2 separate regions of the Homo sapiens genome follow, and region 2 is linked to region 1. The links are contacts of gene promoters, found by promoter capture Hi-C in human tissues and cell types (Jung and others, 2019). All regions are on one chromosome and are shown on one strand. The core of a region is centred on a gene start or on the middle of the fragment in contact, and the rest is flanking DNA. Distances in the headings are between cores, read along the strand shown. Region 1 holds the start of SLC6A4 (solute carrier family 6 member 4). Region 2 overlaps SSH2 (slingshot protein phosphatase 2).

The links. Contacts are between HindIII fragments. The study calls those that stand out against the background at their distance.
Region 2: a contact is called between a fragment that was not itself captured here and the fragment with the promoter of SLC6A4 in region 1, in 1 of the 25 tissues and cell types used here (thymus).

What each region holds. Positions count from the first base shown.
Region 1 is chr17:30,234,447-30,239,433 of GRCh38, forward strand. SLC6A4 (solute carrier family 6 member 4) reads right to left here and starts at 1,251. Exons shown (of 15, transcript NM_001045.6): 1 at 1,167-1,251. It overlaps LOC105371720 (a long non-coding RNA gene), which reads left to right and starts at 3,052. Exons shown (of 3, transcript XR_007065698.1): 1 at 3,052-3,325; 2 at 3,874-4,354. RefSeq lists promoters at 1,035-3,061, 1,035-2,819, 1,035-1,329, 1,225-3,049, 1,230-3,075 and 1 more, cis regulatory regions at 1,330-2,819, 1,691-2,515, 2,392-2,431, 2,659-2,829, 2,698-2,717 and 2 more, a silencer at 1,485-1,667 and an enhancer at 3,883-4,783. The HindIII fragment of the contact is 6,948 bases long and covers 1-3,777 here.
Region 2 is chr17:29,680,472-29,685,392 of GRCh38, forward strand. It overlaps SSH2 (slingshot protein phosphatase 2), which reads right to left. Exons shown (of 16, transcript NM_001282129.2): 6 at 4,092-4,213. Among named protein-coding and RNA genes, the nearest start is that of SSH2-AS1, 43 kb to the left of the region's middle. The HindIII fragment of the contact is 6,367 bases long and covers 1-4,894 here.

The DNA.
Region 1 (4,987 bases), core at 1-2,500:
AACGGTCACTGCCACCCCAGAGTGCGTGGCAGGAAAACCCGAACCCTGGGGCCTCAGTGGCTTCACACAGAAGCAAGTAATGGGACAAAGAGTCAAAGCTGTGTGCTCCCTACGCTCCTAAAAACCCAACACTGACGCTGCCCACAGTTCTCTGTTTCATTAAACACAAGTCCCAATGTCACCTTCTTAGACATTTTTCCTATGTAACTGAAGGCAAAACACATTAAATATTTGCTCTCGTCTTCCTATGATGAGAGTTAGCTAGCAGGCTCATAAATAATCCATTGACCAGGTTCACTTTTCTGGACAAAACTGATGGTAAAAATACATACACAAAGTCTTTGTAATGTCTGATTCAGAAATTCTACCCCTCTCAAATTCTTCAGAGTCCCAAATGGAAAAGGAACAATTCAATATGCAAAAGCCCCAGTTCAGAAGAAAATCTGCTCCTTAGCCCAAGACCCAAATCCACTCTTGAGCTCCAGAGAGCTTTTTTTCAAGAACAAGTTTGAATGTACACAATTTTCAAGCAAATGATGGTTATATCCTTCAACCACGTAGCACAGTCGTTGGAGTTGGAGTTTCACATACATTCTGAATGGCCTGTGAGGTGTCTGAGAGCGCCTCAGCTCTGACAGTGAAACCACCCAAGCGCACGGAGACTCGGCCCACTTAGGCGCCACTCAGAGATTTCTCTAGCTGTCTGGGCATTTGTGTCAACCAGAACTCTCCCTTTGCATAAAGCCACCTGCACGCGATGACAGCAAAGTAAAGATCAAACATAAACCATGGGTTGAAACGAAAGCAAGCAACTCTTCCCAAAGCGCAGGACAGCACTTTGCTCAAGACCCTCTTTAAGGGGTCTTTCACGGGTCCTCAAGAGGTTGCAAAGCCCCTGCAACAATAGACAAAGGAGCCCCCTACGCCCGCCCACTTCGAGCACTCCACGTTCCTCGTCTCCCACTCTGGCCGGTCAGCTTCAGCTCTGGCTCTTGCTGAGCGTGGAGGGCGCAGGGGCAGGATCCGGCGCCCACCGCTGGGGCGCATGCACCTCCTCGCCTCCTCGCAGGGCGGTGGGGCGCAGCGGTTCTATCCCCCTCCCCGAGGCGGGGAAGAAGGTCTGGAAAGAAACGTGGGTTCGAGGCGGAGAGGAAAAGCGGACCCACCTGCCAGGCTGCGCGGGGAGGCTGGTCCCGGGCTGGGCAGGCGGGCTGGCCTCGCGCCCTCGAGGCACCCGGCGGCGCTGGCTGTGCGGAGGGGCGCCGGCGCGGCCGTATTTGTACCCGCGGGCCCTCACATGGTCTGATCTCTAGATAGCCGCCGCCAAAGAGCTCTTGAAGAATTTTTGCGTCACTTTGAGGCGAATAAACTTAATGCTTCCCCGCGGCCGCGGCTCCGCGCTCCCGCTGGATGGGGTTGCGCTCGCCAGGGAGGGGCCGCGCTACGGGGCGGGGTGCGCGCCCGACCCCAGAGCCAGGAGGGGAGGGACCCCCGACACACACACACGCTCGCAGGGAGGAGCGGAGCGCGGAGCAGCCGGCAGGGCAGGGCCGAGCGAGGAATCCTGACTTTCCTGCTCTTTAACTTTGCGGGAGGGGGGAGGCTGCACAAAGGAGCAGGTGTGCGCCTCCCCTGCCGCCCCGCGCCCACAGGACGGCACACAGGGGTCTGCTCGTGCCGCTTTCTCTTGACCTCGGACACCTCCCCATCGTCCCCATCCCGAAAGCTGCTCTCTCTTTCTTCCTGGGACCTAGCAGTACTCGATACCCATGCGTTTATCTGACTGACCGGCTGGGATGTGAGCTCAGCTTAGAGGCCCTTGTCTAATTCCTCTCCGTCCCCAGAGTCTCACAATAAAGACTTCCACAATGAAGGAATGAAGAACTGGTTCTCATTTTGTTAACCAGCTACAGTTCAAAGCTGCGTCAAAAAGGAGCACAGTGCTTTGGGAGGCTGAGGCGGGAGGATTGCTTGAGCCCAGGAATTCAAGACCAGCCTGGGCAACACAGCAAGACCCCATCTCTAGAAAAAAAATTTTTTTAATTAGCCGGGCGTGGTTGCTCGCGCTTGTGTTCCCAGCTACTCAGGAGGCTGAGGTGGAGGATCAGCTGAGCCCGGGAGGTCGAGGCTGCAGTGAGCCGTGATCGAACCACTGCACTCCAACCTGGTGACAATTTGAATTATCTGAAAGGGCCCAGCAGGAGCCTATTGTTTTGAACCATGTGCATGTAGTTTTGATAATTTTTTCAAAAAGTTTAAAAATTGATTTAATGTTAATATCCTTTTTGCTAAAATTATTTAAAACTTTAAAAAGGGCACATGCAGTACTTGCTTTGGGTTGTCCCTGAGGCGGAAAGGAGAGGGCTCTACCTCTCCCCAAGAGGAGGCCAGGAACGATAGGAAGTAGAAGACCGAAAGGAAATAGCAGTGACAAGTTTGCAGCTCCAGAGAAGCCACCGCCCCTTGTACTTGGAGGAACTGACCCCTGAAAACTGTGCGGCCGGTTGGGCTGAGCGTCTAGAGGGACTGAGCTGGACAACCACGGGCAAGCGAGGGCAGCTCCCAGCGGGTGGAGTCCGCGCGGGATTCTGGTGCCACCTAGACGCCAGGGCGGGGACCGCAAGGTGGGCGGGAGGCTTGGAGGCCGGGATGCGGGGGAATACTGGTAGGGTGCAAGGAGAATGCTGGAGGGGTGCAGGGGGGATGCCGGGGGTGCATGGGGGGATGCTGGGGGGTGCAGGGGGGATACTGCGAGGGGTGCAGGGGGGATAATGGGGGTTGCAGGGGAGATCCTGGGAGAGGTGCAGGGGGATGCTGGAAGGGCTGCAGGGGGGATGCTGGGGGTGCAGGGGAGATGCTGGGGGGGCTGCAGGGGGGATGCTGGGGGTGCAGGGGGGATGCCGCGAGGGGTGAAGGGGGGGATAATGGGGGATGCAGGAGCGATCCTAGGAGGGGTACAGGGAGTTGCTGGGAGGTTGCAGGGGGGATGCTGGGAGGGCTGCAGTAGGGACATTAGGGGTTAGGTGCTGGCATTCAGAGCGGCAACGCCAGGCGGGAGAATCCCCAACAAGCTTGGGAATTTCACCCCCAGGGGCAGCGCCTGCACGGGAGTGGGGCCTCCTCCTTTCAGATGAACACAGTTGTCTGCTGCCTCCCACGTTCCACTTCTTAAATGAGCATGTTTGTGCTGTATAGGCAAGGGCAACAGAAAACGCAAAGTGTCCTTTCCAGGAGGGCCAAAGGAGGGGGGCAGGGACGCTGGGAAGAGGCGCCAAAGCGGAGGACGGCTGCAGGGGTGACTTCAGCGCTTGGCTACCAAGACCAGGTCTGTCCAGTGTGACTTCTTAGCACTTCTTAATTGTGCAGTCTCGCCACTTCTGATCTTCCTTCTAGACTCTTTCTAGCCGAAGATGCATTCCTGCCCAGCGCGCAGCCCCTCCCTATGGCACTGCCCTGTTCTGTGCAGGTGCTGCCTAGAGAGTGGGCACCCTGTGGACCTGGGTCAAATCCCGGCCCCCACCCTGTACTGTGGTGTGGGCTTGACCGAGCTCCTTAACCTCAAGCTGTCTGGCCTTTGTGTCTCTGTTTGTGAAGTAGGGAGGATGATCTCAGTGGGCACTGCCCAGCTGTGGGTGGGGAAGGGGCCAACTCCTTGCAGGCCCTGTGCGCTGGGCCCTTCCTCCAAGGGGGCCTTCGACCCCTCCTCTCTCTGGCCGGGTGGTCCCATCTCCTCCCCTCTTGCTCCCCAGCTGCGGGCAACCACCATTAGCAAATGACATTAGAATTACACAGACGGCCCCGCCCTGGTTCCCCCTGCCTCCATGGCAGAGTCCGCACACAACTGGCCCAGACCCTCCCCCTCTCTCTAAACAGGTGTTTCTCTTCCTCCTGCCCTGGGTACCATCCCACAGAGAGGCCAGGCCCACCTGCAGGTCCTCACCTCCACAGAGCCAGCCTCTCTTGAGCAGCTCCGCTCTGCCTTCTGATACTCATCGCCACAAGCACCTTGTCCTTCCTCGGCCTCCCACTCCCTCCCTCTGAGCCCGCGCCCTGCTCCCCTGCCTGGCGGTCAGTCGACTGCCCCGCCCCGCCTCCAATTCAGGTGGACAGGCTTCAGCGTCCACTACCGGGGAAGAGGCAGCCCCGCACCCGTGCCTCCCCCCGCCTCTGGGCCGCTCCTTCCCAGCCTGAGCCTGACCGCATGAGGAAGGCACAACCTCTCTGCTCCAGAGACCTGGAGAGGCCGGGAGGCCCTGTCCTGGGCATGGAAGGCAGGAGGGAGCCCTGAGTGCGGCAGGAGGGAAGCAGCGCTTCAGGGGAAGGATCTAATGGCTGTGACCTGCGTGGGCTGCAGGTAAGAGTAGGGGGGAAGGGGGTTGTCGTGGTGGTTGGGACAGACGGGTTCCTTAGAATGTGAATGCAGGCGTCAGCTGGTGGCCGCAGGGAAGAGATGCAAGCCAGAAACCCAGCAGGCACCTGCGAAGCTTGGTGCTGGTGGTGTATAGGGACAGCCAGGGAGATGTCAAGGGCGACAGGTCCTGGGCAGCTGGGAAGAGGCTGCCTGGCAATCACCGCACAGCAATAGTTTTTCTTTGTTCACCTGCTTGAGCCCAGAAATAGTGGGGCTTAGAAGCTGCTCTGGGGCTCAGAATAAATACAAGCTTTCACTTTAAGAGGAAAGGGGCACATAAATATTTACACCTGCCCCAAACACCACCAAGAAAACCCACTTCCTGGAAGTCTCAAAGGCCAGCAGTGAGTCCCCTGTGGAGCCAGCCAGGACCGAACCATGCGAATCCCAGGCTCTCCCTCCGGAAGCCCTTGGTGCCATCTGTCTGTCCTGTCTCTGCCCTGTTTATACAATAACGAAAGAAGAAGGCCCACCCCTCCTTGTGGGCTTTTTCTCAGGCCCAGGAAAATGCTGACAATATTCAGTCCTTAGAGTGTCATCTTGCTCCATTCCCACCAGCACCTCCCCGACACCCCT
Region 2 (4,921 bases), core at 461-2,960, 550 kb before region 1:
ACCTGGGAGGTGGAAGTTGCAGTGAGCTGAGATTTGCGCCATTGCACTCCAGCCTGGGAGACACAGCAAGACTCCCTCTCAAAAAAAAAAAAAAAAAAAAAAAAAAAAAGAGTGATTCCAGAGCTCAGGAGATTCAAATCAAGACTGAAACAGCTTATCCACATTAGAACCTGGACCTGAACAACAGAAACACAGCTACCATGCCAGAGTCCAGGAGCAAGACAGCTCTACCACAAGTTTTGTTGAGTAGATGAGATGAGCGCACAAAAAAATTTGTTTTGAAAACGGCTTCCCAAGATGAAGTGGGGATAGTTTTACAGTAGCTTTTTGTTTTGTATTTAGTGAGTGCTTAGCCAGGTTCTTAGCAACAAGTATAATTTTGAGTATAAATATGGTGGGTTGGTAGCCCAATGACAAATCTAGAAATTAACTATATAAAAAGATACAGAAGCTGCAAAAGAGTGTGATCTATAAGCTTGTGACCAGATTTTGGTTAACCTTTGGACAAGTGACATTGATATACAGGAATCGACATTACATTTTTGGCTTGTATTCAGGCCAGAGTGCTTTTTTACATTAAGAAGTAGCTTTTTCAGCAGGGCGTGGTGCCTGTAATCCCAGCACTTTGGGAAGCAGAGGCGGGCGGATCACGAGGTCGAGATAGAGACCATCCTGGTCAACATGGTGAAACCCCGTCTACTAAAAATACAAAAATTAGCTGGGCATGGTGGTGTGCGCCTGTAGTCCCAGCTGCTTGGGAGGCTGAGGCAGGAGAATCGCTTGAACCCAGGAGACGGAGGTTGCAGTGAGCTGAGATTGCACCACTGTACTCCAGCCTGGCCACAGAGTGAGACTGTCTCAAAAAAAAAAAAAAAAAAAAAAAAAAAAAAAGTAGCTTTTTCACGCAACAGGAAGGAAAGGACTGAATAAGGCACGCTTGGTATTTTTATCCAGGTTACCTCAGTCTCTCAAGATTTTTCTCCATTTAAGTATAACTACTTATTTTAGTAAATATTCAATTCATTCAATAAAAATTTATTTAGTGCCTACTATGTACCAGACATTTCAAGGTGTTAGGGGTACAAAAAGAAATGGAAAAAAAAAACCCCAAAAAACCATGAAGCTCTATTATTTTATAACTTAAAATATGTTACACTTTAGAAACCAAGATTATGCTGCATATTTAAAAAATTATTAAAATATAACATAATACTCAAAGAACTTGTAAATGGGCTAAATGAATTGGCTGCAACGTATTATTAAGAACTATTTGTACTTGTCATAATCTGGGTTCCACTTTGGCTTAATACTATTTTGAAGCATTAACATTTACATTCTCAGATATGAAATGATACAAATTCAAATTCCTTCAACAACAACTGAGACAGAAATGATTTTAGATTACCTGAGCATCTGAGACTTCTTACTGTCCAAGGAACTCATTAAAGCAGAGGATGTATGGGAATTTCATAATAGCAAGTTTAGCAAACAGAATGAAAACTAGTTTCTAGCTTTTCATGTTTTAAGTTTGTCTTCTATAAACTATAATTTCCTTTGGCTAGTGACACTGGTCAGATATGATTCAGACAGGGCCATTGGCAAAAGATAGATGTAATTTACTGAGTATAAACTACTGGATACCTATATTAATATGCATTCTTTCTGGTAAAGTTTAGGACAAAGTGAAAGAGAAATGATTAGACATGTGCTTGCTCATATTCTGGGTCAGGAGAATCTGCAGTTATTGTCTTCTGTCTCTAGGGGAAGATTCAATTGAAGCTTCATGAGGTTCCTGTTCCTGTTTTATAGGGTTTTCAAGGGAGGGGGTCAGGGAGAACTGAACAAAGGAAATATGAGCTAGAACAGTGCTGTCCAACTGAACTTTCTGCAAGAATGGAAAATGTTCTATACATGTACTGTCTAATACGATAGCCACTAGCACATACGGTTACTGAATACTTGAAATGTGACTAGTTAGAACTGAGGAATTGAAATTTCATTTAATTTTAATCTATTTAAAAAGACACGTGCATGCTGTATGCAGTGGCTCATGCCTATAATCCCAGCACTCAGGAAGGCAGAGGCAGGAGCTCAGGAGTTGAGACCAGCCTGGGCAACACAGAGAGACTGTGTTCTTCACAAAAAGGAAAAAAGAAAAGAAGAGAAGAGAAAAGGAAGGAAGATGAAAGAAGGAAGGAAGGCAGGCAGGCAAGAAGGAAGGAAGGGGCACATATGGTTAGTGGCTACTATACTGGACAACACAGATCTAGAAAGATTAAAAACCTAAATTAGAGGTCCTAAAATCCTAATGAATGTAAACAAGGTAGGTGCTGTTATAGGAAAATGCTTACTGAAAGCTCTGTTGCTTAATCAGAAGTTAAAACCATGCAGGAGAAATCTTCCTAAATCTGGTTTACAAGCCTGTGTAAATTCAGAGCCTACAATTAAATGCTGTTAAGTGGTATACAAGCTAATAACTTTGGCTTTGGGAATTCCTGTGAACCCCCAAGTCATTTTCAGGTTGACTTCTATATAGGAATAAGGTAAACATTGGTTTGGGAAACTTTCTAGTGACAAAGTGATTTTTTCCCCTCAACATCAGGAAAATTAGAATCATTCCCAGGCTCCTCCTCTCTTTGTGGCTAAATTTCCCTAGGCCTGGGTCACACCCCTAGCTACCCCATAGTTCCATTCTAATCCTGAACCAGGAAGTCAATGCTTTGAGACATCTGGCAGGATTTCCTGAGGCTAATTATCCACAGCGTAAAGATCTGCTTAGCAGCCACATTCCAAAGTCTTCCGAAGGTTTCTCCAGAAAAAGTGGGAAAAATAAAAAAGGAAAGCAACAAACCTTAAGGACACACGAAAAGGCCAGGTGTTGTGTGTCATCTTTCATCATAGAATGTAAAGTACAGCTAAAGCCAAAGGTACATAAAAAGTTCTGCTTTGAGTTTAAGGAGCCATCCCGTACCACCCCATCCCCGCCCCGCCCACCATCCTTTTTAACTCAATAGAAGGAAAAAGGAGGCATAGCATTTGGTAAAAGCAAGGTTTAAACAAAACAGACTGTAGTTTAAGTGGGATCTCTTTGTATCTGGGACTACTGGTATACTACCACAAAGGGTAGGTGCCCTAGAATCACCAAAGTGAATCATTACTGACTACAATAGAGTAGGCCAGGTGCAAGGCTCATGCCTGTAATCCCAGCACTTTGGGAAGCCGAAGTGGGAGGATTGCTTAAGCCCAAGAATTCAAGACCAGCCTGGCCAACATAAGGAAATCTTCTCTCCAGAAAAATAAGGAAAAAAAAAAAAAAAAGACCAAATAGCTGGGTATGGTGGTGCATGCCTGTACTTCTAGCTACTTAGGAGGCTGAGGTGGAAGGATTCCTAGAGCCCAGGAGGAATTTGAGGCCGTAGTGAGCTGTGACTGCATCACGGCACTTCAGCCTGGGCAGCAGAGCGAGACGCTGTCTCAAAAAGAGAAATAAAAAGGCAGCTTTTTTTCCATGGAAATGTAACTTTGAAACCACTTGCTTTATATTGTGACTATCTAAAGATGAGATGAAGGTATGGAATAATGGTAAATTGGAAACACACGACCAAAGACATTCACTAAACATTCTTGTTTCTCAAGACTGTGGCTAAGATACTTATGTTCTTTAGTTTTATGTCTTGTACTTTAACAGCAGAACTGCACAAGATATTTTTGTGATAAAAGGCAACTGGGGCCAGGCACGGTGGCTCACGCCTGTAATCTCAGTACTTTGGGAGGCTGAGGTGGGTGGATCACTTGAGGTCAGGAGTTTGAAACTGGCCAATATGGCAAAACCCCATCTCTACTAAAAATACAAAAATTAGTTTGGCATAGTGGTGTACACCTGTAATTCCAGCTACTCAGGAGGCTGAGGCAGGAGAATCGCTTGAACCCGGGAGGCGGAGGTTGCAGTGAGCCGAGATTGAGCCACTGCACTCTAGTCTGGGCAACAGAGTGATGACACTCCGTCCCCATTAAAAAAAAAAAAAAAAAAAAGCAACTGGAACAGGTTACTTAAAAAGCAGTTTTCACATTTTGAAATGGTACCACCATACCTGTCATTAGAGGAGAAATCCATTCCTAGGACGATGCTTTCTTCAGTGTCTTGTCTACCATTAGTTGAAACCACTACCATATAGCGTGTTCGATTCTGGTAAGTACTTTCCAGTCTTACAGCCTGGAATTTAGCAGACAACAGAGAAATTATGAAATTTAGGACATTAATTTCAGATCATTTCAACCCTTTTTCATCAGCATCTTAAAGCATACTCACGAAGGCAGCAGAGCCAGTAGTTAGGAGACATAAATTAAAATCTCAGCTCGTACACTAGCTATAAAAACTTTGGTAAGTTACTAAATTAATTGGAGGGAGATATAATAATACCTAACTGTCAGGTTGTTTTAAGAATCTTATAAAATAATACAGTAAAGCACAGTGCTTGGCACACAGTAAATGCTCAATAAGATGTTTGTTATTAGTGCAATTTATACTAATTACCACAGTGTGTAATAAAGACTGAAGAGGGAAATGTGAGGTATATGAATGTGAGCATTGGTCTCAGAGATGCAATTCCCACAAACAATTATAATATGGAGCAAACTATTAGCATCATCTAAGGGGAGTACTGACTTTGCTATACTGAATTCCTGCATGTTAATGCACTATAAGATTTTCTTCAGTTTCGATGATAATGAAAGGAGATTGCATTTTTAGAAACTTCTCATTTTTTGTCAAAAGTTTTAATTTATTCTTAATTAAATTTTAAAAGGACCCTCAGAAAATCTGAATATGGACAGGGTCTTAGATGAAATTAAGGATTTACTGTTAATGTAATAACAGCATTGTGGTTACTGTGACTTTTTCTTAAGTACCTGGAGTGAAATG